2 separate regions of the Homo sapiens genome follow, and region 1 is linked to region 2. The links are contacts of gene promoters, found by promoter capture Hi-C in human tissues and cell types (Jung and others, 2019). All regions are on one chromosome and are shown on one strand. The core of a region is centred on a gene start or on the middle of the fragment in contact, and the rest is flanking DNA. Distances in the headings are between cores, read along the strand shown.

Region 1 (3,283 bases), core at 14-2,513, 910 kb after region 2:
AGATTTTTGCATAAAATACAGATATCTGGCTTTTTTGAAAACCTGGAAGCTCTGGCCACACTAAGCCCATACTGTCTCTGGGTCATAAACATTTGATGCTAGTCCTTTCTGTGTGGTCTCCACAATGTGCTGTGGAAGACAAGGCACAGCTGCCTCCTGCGTTTGTAGAATCTGCTTGAACCCTGTGGGCATCTATGATACCCTGCCCTAGACAATCTCCTAAAACCTGGCCTTAAACTTTTCTTGACCTTCTTTGGCCCAAAAGCTTCCATTCCTTACTTAGGCAAACTTTTCCCATGATCACTCCCTGGACTGTCTATTCTGAAAGTTTCATTTATTTTTTCTATATTGTCTTAATAATAGCCAACTCCCTAGACTGCTATACTTCCCTTAACGTTTTTGTTAATCTTACTAGCAGGTCACACAATGCCTGAATACATTTCTCTGAGACACAGTCATGATGAAAGAGTACATAGCTTCTACATAGACATTAAAATAGAACATTTTTTCCCTAAACTACTTGTCACCTGGCCACTTGTACAATGCCAGCAGATGACTATGGGTCTGACTTGAGAAATAAAACCGAGGGAGTCAGGCTCAGAAATGAACTGCCTTAAAACGCCCTGTACCATATCTAGTCACGTGACAATAAATACAGACATGTTTCTGATACAGTGGTTTCTGTGTACAGGCACACACTGACAGGTACCTTAAAAAAAAAAATGGGATGACAACATACTTGTATATAGGTACTCATCCTCACCTCTCTCTGTCCAATCTTAGAGGAAAATGTGTCTGCTTTAAAGTAACCTATGATCTGTGTCTCCCTGGCACCTCACTGAAGCCGGGAGTCCTCTCTTGACTGTTTTCCTCCACTTTCCACATCTTCCTCCAATTGGTTCCTTCCCTATAAGCTAGAAATACGTTCACATCACTGCCACTAACAAATCTTTGTCCTTACTATATAGGCCTTTGTAGCTACCATCTTTCTCCCCCCATGAGACCACCAGGCTCCCTGGTAAAGTGGTTAACACTCAGTCCATTTATTTTCTTTCCATTCACTCTTCAACCCACTGCCATTAGCTATCCCTTGTACTCCCCAGATATGCTAGGGAAAAACTTATCAATGCTTTCCTAGTTGCCAAATTAATTTATTATTTTACCCTTCATCTTGGTAAATGTGGCCCCGTGTGTGGCACCTGATACAACATATCCCTCCCTTCTTAAAACTCCTTCCCAGGCTTCAAGACTACTGCTGTCTCCTGGGTCCTCTCCATCTCTAGATGTTGTTTCTCAGTTGCCTTCCCTGGTTTCACTCAAAATTCCTGGGGTTTTGGTGGGGAATTGATACAAGATCCTGATCCCCTCACTTCAGGCTGGGAAATTTAACACAGGCAGGGAAAATCAGATGATCATTCCAAGGAATGTAAGTCTGGAGTGCGGACACATGGGGGTGGGGAGCAGTTGTAAGTGGGTCAGCTGATGGCAGCAGCCTAGATGGCAAGCCACAAATTCTCCCCAGAGACCCTGGAGCTCCCTTCCTCTGTTCTCTCACGGCCTGAGTATTCAGCTGTTTATACTGTGACCTATGCAGCAGGTTTCCAATAAGTTATTCTTTATACAGTGCTTACAGTTACTACATCTGGTTTCTTTTACTTGTAACTAAAGACCTTTAATAGATACCCTAGAGCTTTGCCCTAAGGTATCTTCTCTCCTCTGTGCACATGGGCTTTCTTCCTGGTAGCCCCATTCACTCTCATGGCTTCAGCCACCATCCATATGTTCTTGACTCCTTATTTATATCTTTAGCCTAGAGATCTCTCATGAACTCTCCACCTGCAAATATAATCACTGTACCTAACGATTCTTCTCTTGGGTGACCCCCAGGAACCCAGAACTCAACATGTCCCAAAGTGCACTCATGGACTTTTCCCCGAAATCTGCTTCTCGCTTTTCCATTCTCTAACTCAGTGCCTGACACCACCATCCATTCAGTCACTCCAGCCAAATACCTCTCCTTCTCACTCCCTAATAGATTAGCAGTTGCTTGGTCCCCTCAGTTCCCCTTCTTAATGCCTCTCTTAATTGTTTACCTCTCTCTGCCTCTCCTCCCTATCTCAGGCCCTCAGCACTCCTCCCCTTGACCATTGTGGCAGTCTCCTAACTTGCATCCACTCTCATCTCCTTCTCCCTCTCCATCCATTCACTACAATCCATACACTAGAGTCTCATTTCTAAAGCAGTCTTTGCTCAAGTATCTCCTCTGTTTAAAATCCTTTTTCTCCTATTGCCTAAAAAGGCCAACTACTTAACGTGGCAAACAAAGCCTTTCAGATCTTACTTCTGCCCACTTTGCAGGCAGCCTGATATCTTGATTCCTCTTTCCTCATTGTAATCCCCAAACTCTAGTCATGTTGACCAAGCTGCCCTCCACCAAGACGCCACCCTCCTCATGCCCCCTCCAGCCCTCTGTGCTTCCCGCTCCCTTTGCCTGGAATGCCCTTCCCCACCCACCCAGACATCTGCTTAGTAAACACCTACCCATCTCTTTCTTCAAAAGGTTATCCGTGTTTTTAAAAATAAAAATAGCAATTTTATTGGAAAAAAGAAAGAAAACACAGAGAAGTTTCATGAAGAAATAAAGATGACCTAAAAAGCCTACCACCACTTAGAAACAAATGTAGATTGGAGTGGGGGAACATGTTTCCCTATCCTGGCTTCTCAGCAAAGCTGTGGTTGATGGGTAGTGAACTCGCCAGAGAGGCAGTAAGTGGCCCGGTGGTTGCAAGAGGTTGAGGGCAGGAGGGAATGGGGAGTTAGTGTTTCATGGGTTCAGGATTGCAGTTTGGGAAGACAAAAAAGTTCTGGAGACGGACAGTGGCGATGGTTGCACAAAAATGTAAATGTACTTAACGCCACTGAACTTTACACTGTTAAAAATCATTAAAATGGTGAATTCTCTGTTACGGGTATTTTACCATAATTTTTAAAAAGAGGAAAAAGGAAACAAGACTGATCTCAAGGGGTAGCAGTTTCAGTAACATTTTTTTCTTTTTTCTTTTTCTTAGAAAGGGAACTGGCTGACGTTCATGGTGGGGGAGATGGAAGGAACTGGTAGAAACGAGAAACAAAAAACCCAAGAGAGATTTCATTTTTCACTAGGATGCCAGGTATAAAATAGCACATCTCTTTTAATATTCAGAATAGCCGGAGTCTCCATTTCGTTATTACAATAATGTCTTTATCCCTTCCCAGGTTCTCCCCTTCCATTCTCTACCTCTTT
Region 2 (3,225 bases), core at 61-2,560:
GAAAGTTCTTAACGTTAGTTTTTAAATTAAAATTGTTTTCAGCTAACAATAAACAAGATGGATATACACAAAATTATGTTAATCTAGTGATGAGCCTAATTAAAGGAGGGGGGTACCATTGATTTAGTTGAATTATACTAATCGAAAAGAACAGAAAAAACGATGGTGAAGAAACTACAAGAGGACTGTCAGCTTTTCAGGGTCCTTTTAAAAGAACAGTTCTTGTCCTTCTAGAACTAGTTATTCAAAATTCTTTTTTCCCCCCTCGATTCTCTTGATAAAATTCAGATAGTAAAGACGTATAAGTCAGTGGGGCTATTTTTACAAAGATCATTGCTTAGTGCTAGGAAGAGAATCCAGAAGACGGGAAGTTGAGGGTTGTGTTCTAAAAGTTCTCTGAAGAAAAGGGTACAGAGAAGCTCCAAGTTGTGCAGGCCCAGCAAACTCCATGTTGGACGTGCTTTGCTACCACCTAAATCTCTTCTGTCGGAATTCAAGGCCCGAACCATTCCAGGGATTTTAGAAAAAAATGGGGAGACACAAAAATGATGCCAAAGCCATAGCTATCATTACAAACATCCATTATGTTCACTCTGCTTTCCATATGCAACGCACTCTACATACAATGGGCGCCTTATAAGCACATAGCAAATGTGAAAAATATTATCAACATTGCTTTGATAATATTAATATATTATATATATTAGAATATATTATATATTAGAATATATTATATATATTAGAATATATTATATATTACTAATATAAAAAATATTATCAACCCTGCTTTAGAGAAGATGATACTGAGATATGAAGAATCATAAACTGTCCAAGATCACAGGGGCAAAAAGTTCACCTCAACTGAAACCTCTCACGAACCACAAAAATGTGGCCGAGGGAGCCTCAAAAAGCAGTACCCCAAGCGGGGACGGTAAAGTCAGAAAAGACAAGGCTGGGGGTAATCACAGAGAAATCTAAAAACCCGCTCGGCCTCGCTACTCTTCTCCTTCCTCTGAGGTGCAGAGGCGCGGTGGGACGACAAGGAGTTGCGAGAAAGGGCAGAGCTCACTGAGGAGGCAACAGAGAAAGTCCGCTAACAATTTTTGAAGGCCGTAAGTTAAACATGTTAAAAACTGTAGCTACTCACTCAGCCGACATCTAGTAAAAAAGATGCGGCAAGATCAACAAGGCATATAGCTTGCGCCCGCCAGAAGTTCCGCGGCCTCCACACCCATCCCGGCATACTTTGCGCCGTGCACAGGCAAGCCCTGGTGCGCATTGGCCCCTTCGGCCGCCGTCGGCCGGTAGTTACTATGGAAACCCAGCTGCCATCGCTATGTCTCTGCAAAAGACCCCTCCGACCCGAGTGTTCGTGGAACTGGTTCCCTGGGCTGACCGGAGCCGGGAGAACAACCTGGCCTCAGGGAGAGAGACGCTACCGGGCTTACGCCACCCCCTCTCCTCAACACAAGCCCAAACTGCTACCCGCGAGGTGCAAGTAAGCGGCACCTCAGAAGTGTCTGCGGGCCCTGACCGGGCGCAGGTGGTGGTGCGAGTGAGCAGCACCAAGGAGGCGGCAGCCGAGGCCAAAAAGAGCGTTTGTCGCCGTCTAGATTACATCACGCAGAGCCTCCAGCAGCAGGGCGTGCAGGTGAGATCTCCGCGGGGGAGGAAATAAGAGCCGGAAGACACAAAAGGGTTGGCAGATGGTCGGGCCCCACAGGCCCCCCTAGCGGGAAGGGAGATGTGGAGGGTCTGGAGCGTTTAGGACGCGTTTGTTGCAAAGGTACTCCGGGACGCCAGGACCTGGCAGAGTGAATATTTGACCCATTCTTCTCCTAGACGAAGGTAATTATTGGCCTCAGGCAAATTAAAAATAAAAGAATGCAAATTGGGTAGGTTTTTATCTGGGGATATTTGCTTCAGTGATTTTGTTTTTAAATTTAAAGTGATGAAATGTTAAAACTTGAAATGTTAGTTGTAAATACTTGCCCACGTGGAGTGCTGGACACTAAATATTTTGTTTTGTTTTGTTTTTATTCCGCACCATGGAATTGGCAAGTGAAGAGCACGACCTGCTTCCTTCCGATCATGTAAAACTTTGCATGGAATGGTTCTTGAGTATGTTCCGCAAACAGTAACGTTGGGAAGTGGGGAAGAAGTTGCGTCCATTTTCATTTTATAATGATTTTCATTTTATAGTGATTCCCCCAAAATTTCTTCGGCCTTCTTAGGTTTAACTTAAAAGAAAAAATCAAGCCAGTATTGTGGATACCACATATACGAAATACTTCTACTTACTTAACGGAGATGTCCATGAGACAAATCACTAAACAAATCTTACCTTAAGCCTACTCCTAAGGCAAGAAAAAAAATGAAGCCATCATTTAATCCACACAATAGCACTGTTAGGCATGTTTTAATATCCCTGTTTTCCAAATTTAAAGAGGTTAAACAATGCTCTGAACTTTAGGTAGAGCAATATTTGAACTCATGTATTCCTGAAACCAGAATGTAAGTTGCTTCCAATTCTGCCGATAATTAGAATGAAAGAAAATTAGAAATCATAGGGATCAACGATTTCAGTTTTCTCATTTTATAGAGTAGGACCCCAAAGGCCAGAGATGTAACTTATCCAGGATGACATTGAGTTGGTAAAAGTGCAGGCATTGTTACTTCCAGTCTATTGCAAGAAATTCCATACCCCGAAAAAGCAAGTCCTTATTTTTAACAAGAAAAGATATTTGAATTGCATTTATAATACAAACATACAAGTTATTACAAAGTCATTTGGACAAGATTTCTTCAAATGATTTTACAATTTAGAAAAATACAGATAATTATAAATAATGTGAGTAAAGTGGGTTTAATATGTAGAAAAATAGTTTTAAAAAACTGCTACTAGTGCTGTAGTCGTTTGAATAATGTTAACAAGTTTTTAAGTTATTTACATAAAATAAAAAGAGCTCACAGGTCTCTAATATATAAAACAACATAAGCTGGGCATGGTGGCTCATGCCTGTAATGCCAACACTTTGGGAGGCCAAGGCAGGTGGATCACTTGAGGCCAGGAGTTCGAGACCAGCCTGGCCAACATGGCAAAACCCAATCTCTAGTAAAAATACAAAAATTAGGTGGGCATGGTGGCACAGTCCTGTAATCCCAGCTACTAGGGTGACTGAGGCAGGAAAATCTCTTGAATCCGGGAGGCGAAGGTTTCAGTGA

What was found. The method cuts DNA at HindIII sites, captures the fragments that hold promoters and counts their contacts. A contact is called where the count stands out against the background at its distance.
Region 1: a fragment that was not itself captured here is called in contact with the fragment with the promoter of IRAK1BP1 in region 2 in 1 of the 25 tissues and cell types used here (dorsolateral prefrontal cortex).

What each region holds. Positions count from the first base shown.
Region 1 is chr6:79,774,780-79,778,062 of GRCh38, forward strand. LOC124901349 (a long non-coding RNA gene) reads left to right here and starts at 3,069. Exons shown (of 2, transcript XR_007059655.1): 1 at 3,069-3,170; 2 at 3,256-3,283. The HindIII fragment of the contact is 4,720 bases long and covers 1-3,283 here.
Region 2 is chr6:78,866,241-78,869,465 of GRCh38, forward strand. It overlaps IRAK1BP1 (interleukin 1 receptor associated kinase 1 binding protein 1), which reads left to right and starts at 1,311. Exons shown (of 4, transcript NM_001010844.4): 1 at 1,311-1,651. The coding sequence starts at 1,337. LOC107986613 (a long non-coding RNA gene) reads right to left here and starts at 1,250. Exons shown (of 2, transcript XR_001744210.2): 1 at 1,148-1,250. RefSeq lists enhancers at 1,206-1,315, 1,346-1,665, 1,498-2,098. The HindIII fragment of the contact is 12,955 bases long and covers 1-3,225 here.